Linked DNA regions of Homo sapiens: regions 2 and 3 are each linked to region 1. The links are contacts of gene promoters, found by promoter capture Hi-C in human tissues and cell types (Jung and others, 2019). All regions are on one chromosome and are shown on one strand. The core of a region is centred on a gene start or on the middle of the fragment in contact, and the rest is flanking DNA. Distances in the headings are between cores, read along the strand shown.

Evidence for each region. The method cuts DNA at HindIII sites, captures the fragments that hold promoters and counts their contacts. A contact is called where the count stands out against the background at its distance.
Region 2: a contact is called between a fragment that was not itself captured here and the fragment with the promoter of RERE in region 1, in 1 of the 25 tissues and cell types used here (heart left ventricle).
Region 3: a fragment that was not itself captured here is called in contact with the fragment with the promoter of RERE in region 1 in 1 of the 25 tissues and cell types used here (aorta).

Annotation. Positions count from the first base shown.
Region 1 is chr1:8,816,135-8,819,435 of GRCh38, forward strand. RERE (arginine-glutamic acid dipeptide repeats) reads right to left here and starts at 1,506. Exons shown (of 23, transcript NM_001042681.2): 1 at 1,026-1,506. RefSeq lists silencers at 1,104-1,163, 1,414-1,713, 1,814-2,043 and an enhancer at 1,456-1,750. The HindIII fragment of the contact is 13,824 bases long and covers 1-3,301 here.
Region 2 is chr1:8,092,958-8,096,258 of GRCh38, forward strand. The region is part of intron 2 of ERRFI1-DT (ERRFI1 divergent transcript); the gene reads left to right. Among named protein-coding and RNA genes, the nearest start is that of ERRFI1-DT, 68 kb to the left of the region's middle. RefSeq lists an enhancer at 1,512-2,711. The HindIII fragment of the contact is 3,721 bases long and covers 1-3,301 here.
Region 3 is chr1:8,295,036-8,298,336 of GRCh38, forward strand. It overlaps LINC03154 (long intergenic non-protein coding RNA 3154), which reads left to right. Exons shown (of 2, transcript XR_007065454.1): 2 at 1-1,414. Among named protein-coding and RNA genes, the nearest start is that of SLC45A1, 21 kb to the right of the region's middle. The HindIII fragment of the contact is 7,461 bases long and covers 1-3,301 here.

The sequences.
Region 1 (3,301 bases), core at 256-2,755:
GAAAGCAATTATGAAAACTGTTTCAAATCTTAGATGCATCAATTCCTGCTATATTAAAATGTCTATTTTGTAATTCACCAAGTTCACCCTCTTACTAGTTATCTTTTTTTGCGTTTAAAAATTCGCTGTGAAGAAGGCTATTTCACGATTCATACAAAACTACTTTCTAAATGTACCTTAAAAAAGCAACAGATACTGAAACATTTAAAGCACCCAGTTTCTCAAGGACCCATTTTACTTAAATCAATGTTTGAAGTCTGTAATCCAGAAAAATTGTAAGCAAACCTTGGAAAAGAGACAGAGGAAAATGACAATTCAACAATGAATCATTCTGTTTTCCTTTCAACAACTTCTCAAGCAACCAGTTTCAAAGGAAGCCTGCAACACTTTTCCCCCCTCCTAGCAGACACACATACACACGTGTATGTAAAACTACGAATCTTTCCATCATCTTAAAAATTAGTAATAAATAGAAGCCACCCTCCTTCAGAGAGCAGAACTAAAACAGGATAGTAAGAATTCTATTCTGCTGCAAGTGACTTTGGGTTTCATAATTTTCTAATCACATACAGCTGAGAACTAGAGATTGGGAGCACAAAGAGGAAATCTTCCCCCAATGAGAAAATGATACTTTAATAATAAAGTCCTCCCCCCAGCACCCCGAAATCCACAAACATTCAAGAAATTTACAGTTTCAGTCCTTGACTTCCTTCCCTTCCAGTTTCAGCCAATAATGTAGTCACATGAAATAGTTTAACCTCAAACAAGTAGAACAAGAGCATGAATAAGAGGCCAAGAGAGAGCAGGGGTCAGAAGGCACGCAGGAACGGTCACCTGGCCCGGACAGGACCAAAGAAGTGCCCTGCCCTCGCCCGACTCCCCTCGACTTCGGCTTCGACCCCAGCCTTTTCTTCCTGCCTCCCCCCGGGCGAGTGACTGCTTTCACGGCCGACCCTCTCTGACCACCAGGACGAGGGGCCAAAAAAGAAAGCACACGACCCGGCGCGGGCAAGTTGGACACTTACCTTCCCCTAAAGCGCTACACCATCAATAGTGAGGTGTTCGCGGCCCAGCTCCGGGGAAAGTGGCGGGGATGGGGCGGGAGGCCGCGCGGAGGCTGCGGGGCCGCGGGGCGCAGGGCCGAGAGGGGCGGCCCGCGGGGAGGCGACGCGGAGGGGCTGAGGGGGCTTCCCTGCCGTGACCTTTCCTGCGACTTGAACCTAGGCTCCCTCCTCCTCGGTCGGGCAGATCTTTCAGAAGCAGGAGCCCAGGATCATGTCTGGTTTTGTTTTCCGAGGGCGAGGGGGCTCCCTGAGGATGATGGTGATTTTTTTTTTTTTTTAATCCTCAACTAGGAGAGAAAATGAGGCAGAGACAATGTGGGGAGCGAGAGAGGGGAAAAGGACGGGGGAGGAGGCGGGGACCGAGGCCCAGCGGGGCGAGCGTCTCGGGGTGTGCGGGAGGCTGAGGAGGCTCCGGAGCGCGGAGGGTTGCTCGCGAGCGTCTGTGGGAACAGCGGCACCTCCGCGATGGTGGCGGAGCCGCGGCGGAGCTGCTGCACCGACCCGCCGCCCACTCCCCGCTCGGGCCCGGCCCACCTCGCAGTATCGCGCCCCTCCATTGGTACAGCGCGGTGTGACGCGGCCGGGGGCCCGGCCAATGGGAGGCGGAGGAGGCGGGATCTCTTTTTCCTTTTTTTTTTTTTTTTTTTTTTTTTTTTAATCTTTTTAATAAAATGAGCAGAGAAGAAGGCGGAGAGAGGCCGAGCCTTGACAACGCCGCGGCCCGGGGCTCGAGGGCTCGCGCTGCAGGCGGCGGCCAGAGGCGGTGGGCTGGGCTCCCGCCGCGGGCGCGTCTTTGTGAGAGTGCGAGGCCGGCCCTCCTCCGCCGCCCGCCGCGCTCCAGTACCGCCCCCCGCGCCCCCCGGGCTGGGCCGGGCTGGCGGCGCGGGCAGGTCCCGGGTGGGGTGGGGGGAAGTCCGGTTGATCTTGCTGTTACCCGGGTCTTAATTGGCCTTTTCAGTCATTAGGACGCGGATCCATGTTGCTGCGGGCTACAGAGTGGGTGTAAACCATTCTCATATGGACTCTTTCGAAATTCTGATGAGCGGCTTGTAATATTTTTCAAATAGTGTACATGACAAAAGATGAATTACAGAAAGAAAAATAAAAGTGATAAGTCGCACTGCTTATTTGAAAAGAATAAAAAGTGTCATGAAGGCATAAAGGAGAGACTGTACAGGTACAGAAGGGATTTTAGAAAGAGCAGTGTACAACTCTATAAGGTACGTGTGAAAAAAAATCTAAAAAGAGGAAAAGACCAAACATCACCTCTTTTTCTTTGAAGAATGAAGTATTGTGTCCCACTTCCCGAAAGCCTGATAATCACAGGGTCTATCATGCTGTAAAGGGAGTAGGGGCAGGCCAAATGATCATATTCTAGTTCATATAATTTATGGGATTGAGGGGTTTGGAAATTTCAATTATGATTAGCAGTTTTTGAAATGCACATCATGTTTATTGAGTTCTTTCACAGAGCCTGGCACGAATCCAGGGTGAATCATCAACCTATTGTTGGTTTGTTAATATTCTGTAAATGCTTATTGGTGTCCTTATACCATACACTCTTCCCGAAGGAGTTAAGGTCCGTATAAAATAAGGGGTAGAAAACGTAGCACAAAATAATTCACTCATCTGTTTCAAAAGAAGTGATAATTTTCTCCTTGGAAAATCTATTCAGATTATAATTTCCACATTGAATTATTCATTTTTTTTTTTTTTCTGAGAGGGAGTTTCACTCTTGTTGCCCAGGCTGGAGTGCAATGGCGCGATCTCGGCTCACCGCCACCTCCGCCTCCTCAGTTCAAGCGATTCTCCTGCCTCAGCTTCCCGAGTAGCTGAGATTACAGGCATGCGCCACCACACCCAGCTAATTTTGTATTTTTAGTAGAGATGGGGTTTCTCCATGTTGGTCAGGCTGGTCTCGAACTCCTGACCTCAGGTGATCCGCCCGCCTCAGCCTCCCAAAGTGCTGGAATTACAGGCGTGAGCCACCGCACCCGGCCCACATTCAATTATTCTTTAAAGAATAATTTGGACTAACAGATACTATTGGACCATGACCCAAGAGATCTTAAAAAAAAAAAAAAAAGCCATAGATCCTTGCCATCACATTTCTGAGTAACTTTCAGCAAGAAAAATCCTCTTTGCTGGAGTTATGAAATGGGGAAACTAGTTAATATCTCTTTATATATCTGATAATGTGAGAACTGAATTTTAAAACCTAATAAATTCAATAAACT
Region 2 (3,301 bases), core at 505-3,004, 720 kb before region 1:
CATTTATTATCCTTATTACACACTAATTTGTCAAACAAAACTGAAGTGTCACATAAAGTGGCACAACTTTGGATGAATAATGAGGTGGACCGTGGTGGATCTTTTGAAAGACACAGGCTGATCAGACTGGGATGACAGCGTGTCATTGACTAAGGAGAGAGCATTCAAGGTCATCTATCAGTTGGGGTTAAGATGTCTATTGCGAGCCAGGAGAGGTGGCTCATGCCTGTAATCCTAGCACTTTGAGAGGCCATGGAGAATTGCTTGAGGCCAGGAATTTGAGACCAGCCTGAGCAACATGGCAAGACCCCATCTCTACAAAATATATTTTTTTTTCCAAGAAGAAAACAAAGTTAACTGGGCATGGTGGCATGCACCTCTAGTCCTAGCTACTCAGGAGGCTGAGGCAGGAGGAGTGCTTGACCCTGGAAGGTGGAGGCTGCAGTGAACTATGATCGCGCCCCTGCACTCCAGCCTGAGTGACAGAGCAGACTCTGTCTCCAAAAAAAAAAAAAAACAAAAAGTCTGTTGCTTTAAGTGCTTTGTTTATTCATCCAACAGATAGTTTTTGATAATATACTGTGTTGGGCGCTGCAAGGTATAAAAAGATGAGTAAGACACGGCTCCTATCACCAGTGAGTTTATAATCTAACAGGGAAATAACTATACAATCAGGCAGTTTGTGATATGTGTCATGGGCATTCATGAAAGTGGCAGAGGTCAGGGGGCGGGGGTCCCTTCCAGCTGGGAGGAATAGGGATGCTTTGTGGAGGAACTGGCATCTGAGCAGGAGGCAGCCGTGCATTCACATTGAGGGGATAAGAAGCTAGGAGACTGTTGGTGAGGCCTCACAGGGAGGCTCCACCTGGACTGGACTTTGGAGGCCAGGTCATTCATTTGACACAGAGGAGACTGAGGAGACATTACGAGCCAAGAGCCAGCCCTGAACACGGTATGGGTGTGTTACAGGGGGGCCATCAGGTAGACCGGAGCAGGAGAGAGTTCTGACGATGTAGAATTGGGCAGGTTTTACGTCTGAATGTCAGGTTGCGGAGTCTGCAGGTGGTGGAAAAGTATCAAAGATTTCTGAGCAACGGGCATTTTGGGGCAACAAATCTGGCAGTGAGGTCTAGGATAAACCAAAGGGCAAACGAGACAAGAAACGAGGAGACTCTTGAGATAGTGCAAGTTAGAGGTGAGGAACCAGGATGGATGGGAAAATGACAGGAGAGGCAGGTGAAGATGTCATTTCAAAGGAAGCAAATGAACACGGTTTGAGCAGTATAAACCCTGAAGAGCCATAAAAGCAAAATCTAAATATCAGGGATTATTGAAGGGAAGGAAGAGGGAAGCTGCAGGGTCAGCGTGAGGCTGGAAGTGGAGGCATGGAACAGGGAAGCTGGGAGATGCAACCTCAGTCTGGCAAATCATTATAGACTCTAACCATCAGCATGGTGGAGACCAACTGGTCCCTCCTGCCAGTTGCGTATCTTGAACTCTTCAGGTATGTAACTGATAAATGGCAGCTAGGGTTTCTCAACGCCTCATCCACTCGGAGCCATCTAATCTCCGTCAACACGGTCAGATGTCTGGTTCCTGCTGCTTGGCCTTATTTCCACGGGCTGTCCATGTCAGCATGGAAGTGAGCACTCGTGCAGCTTTGGTGGAGAATAAAGGTCATGTACATACGTGCTCATTTCTAAATGAGCTGTAATTATATTTGCATCTCAGGACTCCATGACTCACCTCTGCCCTTATTAACTCCACCCAGTGATCTGCCTCTTGCATTCAAAGATGAAGTCACTCCATCCACTTCACTTTTCAAATCTTGGCAGAGCTTTCATGATGATTTTTTTCTTTGAAAGGAATCCAAAAGTTTGGATACCAAACTTTCAGAGCCATCAAGGGCTCCTAGGGAGACGCGTCCATCCCCAAATGTGAGGTGTGTTGTGTTGTGTGTTTCTTGCTGAGACATGGTGAGCTCCTCCACATCAGAGGGCAAAGTGCCCATGGGCAGCAAATGTGCTTGTCACGTTGAACTTTAACCAAAGATCAAAAAGCATGGCGGAGATTCGAGTTTCTTAATCTAAGTCGGTTTAAACTCCTGGTGAGAGGGGAGAAGCAAAACAAATATGAGCGTGACATCCTGCTTTTAGCGCTGAGAGCCGTGGTTCACAGGAAAAGGCTGTGAATCAGAAGGGGCCAAGAGCTCATCCTCTGGTCAGCACAAGCGATGTTTTCCACAAGGGAATGAGCCGAAGTGAAGAAGGCAGAAAAACACTGGAATCCCTTAAAATGCCTTGTTGTAAACACACGTCTCAAGTATTTGTTGAGTATTTACTATGGTGAGGAGATTGTCTTAAGTGCAAAGAAGACATAGTTTCTGCTCTTTTGGATTTACATTAGACAGTTACTAAGATAAATGGGAGGATCTGGAGATGAGGATTTTTCATTGTTTGTGGATGTGGGAAGCAGTCTTCACAGATGCAGTATTGGAGACCAGTATCCTTGGTAACAATGGTGAAATTATTTATTTTCTCTAAAAAATTGTGATTTTTAAAATACTTTAACTATCAGATACTAGAAACATAAAATAATGATTCCCAGTTGCTAAGATTCATATCGGCTAAACATTCACGAGGTTCCTATAACATGCCCTCACATACCTTACCTTATTCCGTGACCGCAACAACTTTGTGAGATCGTTTTATCACCCCCATTTTACAGATGAGGAAACTGAGTCTTGGAGAGGTCAAATAACCTCCCCAACCTCCTACTAGTAAGTGGCAGAACAGGGATCAAAACCCCAGGTCTTCTAGTCATAAATTCTCTGCCTTCCACTCTATCAAAGCTGCCCCATGAGGAAAAAACACCTAAAATTGACTCATCTCTATGCCTATGGAAAAAACCTACCTAACCCCTGAAGTCAAGGAAACTTAAAATTCTCCTGCCAGATAGACTTCAGCGCTGAAGGACTTTAGGTTTCAGAATCCCTTCTTATACACCACTCCCACTTTGGGGTCTAATGAGGCTACCACATGAAATCTATCAAGCAAATCTGAGATTTTCAGGGCAAATTGAAAAATCCATAATGTTTACATGGTCTAGATAAATTGTTATTGTTTATTTATATTCCAATTTCCTAAGAACTGATAGTAAAACTATCCTTACATGAACATGAAGAAAATTTCCAACACTCCAATATTATTTGTATCTACCTGTACTATCTCCAAGCTTTCCAGTTGAAAAATATAAAATCTGTGTTACTATTGGCCTCTGTCCCTTATTCCTGGACCTGGGC
Region 3 (3,301 bases), core at 427-2,926, 520 kb before region 1:
ATCTAACTCTGCTCTGGGTCCCAGAGACACCAACGTACACAAGATTCACTTCTTATGTCCCAGGAGCCCATGGTCTACCCAGGAAAGCAGAGAGGAGAAAGAAGACCTGTTCTGTGAGGCTGAATAATTGAGCTGTGGGTAGGAACCTGAAGAGAGCAGAGCCAGGGCAGACCCCAAGGAGGGGAACTGAGCTGAGCCTGGCAAGATGAACCCCAGCTTGCCCTCCTCCATTGAGTGTGGTGAGGAGGCCCACAAAGGGCCTAGAAATGTTCATCATGGAGCTTGGGAGAGAGGGAGAGAGGGGCCGCTCAAACTGTGTATGTTGGTATCACCATTATAATTGCCTACACTTTACAAAAAGGCAAAACTGTTCAAAACTGTCACTTTCTGAAAAGGTGACAGAATTCAGAGGTGGAGACTCCACCCAAGTACCGTCAGGCACAGCTGCTGCTGGGAAGCCTCTCCAAAATGAGTTGAAGGCCACAGGCCTTGGATGCTGGGCAGATAGCAGAGACTGCTGGGCACCCCGGTGCCACAGAGTGCAAGAAGGTTCTCCCCCAACAGCCCCTTCCACGAACACCCTGGCACCTGCCCTGCATGGTCCTGCTTCTAGGAACTTTCTTTCTTTTTTTTTTTTTTTTTAGACAGAGTCCTACTCTTGTTGCCCAGGCTGGAGTGCAGTGGCACTGTCTCGGCTCACTGCAACCTCTGCTTCCTGGGTTCAAGCGATTCTCCTGCCTCAGTCTCCCAAGTAGCTGGGATTACAGGTGCCCGCCATCAAGCCCATGTGTCTCTGTGTTGTCATTTAATGTCAGTGCAAGGACTCTGATCAGCTATATTGAAATAATATATTACATATAATAATATTGAAATAGTTATCATGGGAATGTAGAAAATCACTTGTTTTCTTAATCAAAGGTTTAAAATGCTTTTGGAATTATTTTAATAAGTATTATTTTTACCCATTTCAGAGTCTTATAGAGAACAAATCTACAGCAGCCCTGGGGCTCCTCAGGGAGAACAGCGATGGGTATTTTGGGAGGGGCCTCATGGTGGCCCCACAGGCTGAGGAGCGAGCTGTCTGATTAGTGCATTTGGAGAAGGGGTGAGCATTCTCAGCTGAGAGCCTCTTGCTTTTGGGGAGTGTTTTGACTAATAGTGGCCAATTATTCACACCATGATAAAAAATATCAGTCATGATAGATAGCAAGCTCTTCTCGTGTTCACGACTCGGAGTGAGGTAGCGTTCTGATTCTCTTCCCTTTGTTACCAGAAAAGGGTCCCAATCCAGACCCCAAGAGAAGGTTCTTGGATATCACACAAAAAAGAATTCGGGGTGAGTCCATACAGTAAAGTGAAATCAAGTTTATTAGGAAAGTAAAGGAATAAAGAATGGCTGCTCGTGGACTGCTCAGCTACTTGTACTTACTGTTACTTCTTGGTTATGTGCTAAACAAGGGGTGGGTTATTCATGAGTTTTCCAGGAAAGAGGTGGGCATTTCCTGGGACTAAGGGTTCCTCCCCTTTTTAGACCATGAAGGGTAACTTCCTAACATTGCCATGGCATTTGTAAACTGTCATGGCGCTGGCGGGAGGGTCTCTTAGCATGCTAATGCACAAAAATTAATATATAATGAGCCGTGAGGATGACCAGAAATCACTTTCGTCACCATCTTGGTTTTGGTGGGATTCGGCCAGCTTCTTTACAACATGCTATTTTATCAGGAAGGTCTTTGTGACCTGTATCTTGTGCCAACCTCCTATCTCATCCTGTAACTAAGGATGCCTTAACCTCCTGGGAATGCAGCCCAGTAGGTCTCAGCCTTATTTTACCCAGCTCCTGTTCAAGATGGAGTTGCTCTAGTTTGAATGCCTCTGACACCTTGAATTCATTTTTGGGTCTGAAATGGACACTGTGAGCTGGCCAAAGAGGGGAACTGGGTACCTACTTACTGATTGAGTTTCAAAGGAGAGCTCTTAACTTCATGAGAAATGCATCCTAATCTCCCACATTAATGAGATGCTTCCAAGAATGATTATACTCCTTGATTATTGATTAATAGATTGACGCAGCCCAGAATGAGGTCTCTAGGGACACAGTGCAGGGCTCAGATATCTAAGGTCCCGTAACCCCTCTGAGAATGTAGTATCGCAGAAGTGTGTTCTGTTAATCAGGGTGGGCCAAGGGCACAAGTAATCCCCAAAGCTCAGGGGGCAAACACAAAAAGTGGCTCCCTTGAGTTCAGAGGTCAGGTGGCTCTCCTCCTGCAGCAACTCAGGAATCCAGTATGCTTCCCTCTCACAGATCTGCCATCTGGAAGTTATTTGCTAACAGCCCCTGATGAGAGAGCAAAAGTGTGAAGAGCTCACACCTGCTCTAACACGTTGAACTGATAGCAACCATCACTTCCACTCACATCCATATTGGCAAGAACTCAGTCACATGATCTCACCCTAGCAAGGGCTACTGGGAAACGGAGTCTTCCTGTGCACCCAGGAAGAAGAAATGGCGTAGTGAATGGGAAACAATCCCCAGGCCCCGTGTAAGTAGAAAGCAATTGTCTTCATTGTGTTTAATTGTACTAAGGCCTATCAGGAGATTCACAAAGCTTCATAAAACCAACTTTTTTTTTTTTTTTTTTTGAGACAGGGTCGTACTCTGTCATCCAAGCTGGAGTGCAGTGGTGCAATCATGGATCACTGCAGCCTCAACCTCCCAGGCTCAGGTGATCCTCCCACCTCAGCCTCCCAGTAGCTGGGACTACTACGGGTGTGCGCCACGGTGCCTGGCTAATTTTTGTATTTTTTGTAGTGATAGGGGTCTCACTATGTTTCCCAGGCTGGTCTTGAACTCCTGGGCTCACACAATCTACCAGCCTTAGCCTCCCAAAGTGCTGGGATTACAGGTGTGGGCCACTGCACCTAGCCTCAACCCTCTTTGTGTAAGACAAGTAACTTTGCTCAAGATGAATCCTTAGTGGACAAAAATTTCCCTCTTGTCAGTTCTCTGCTTATATAGTTGCTTATTTCTAAGTCTGACTCAGGCAAGAGGTTTGGCCCCCCACAAGTAGAAACTAATGGGAGTGTTGTCATTGGAACATCTGCACGTGAAAATGTGTTGGTGGTAAAGGGATGGGAAACGTGTGTTGCCAAGGAGTTCCCAGCACCTGAAAGAAGCAGAAAGTGTGTGGCAATTAATTGTCCTATAAAGGTTGGAAATTGTATAAAGCAAAAAAATTAAAGTTTAAAAAATTTTAATAATTATTTTAAATACCTGAACAAGTCCCCAGAATAAAAACTT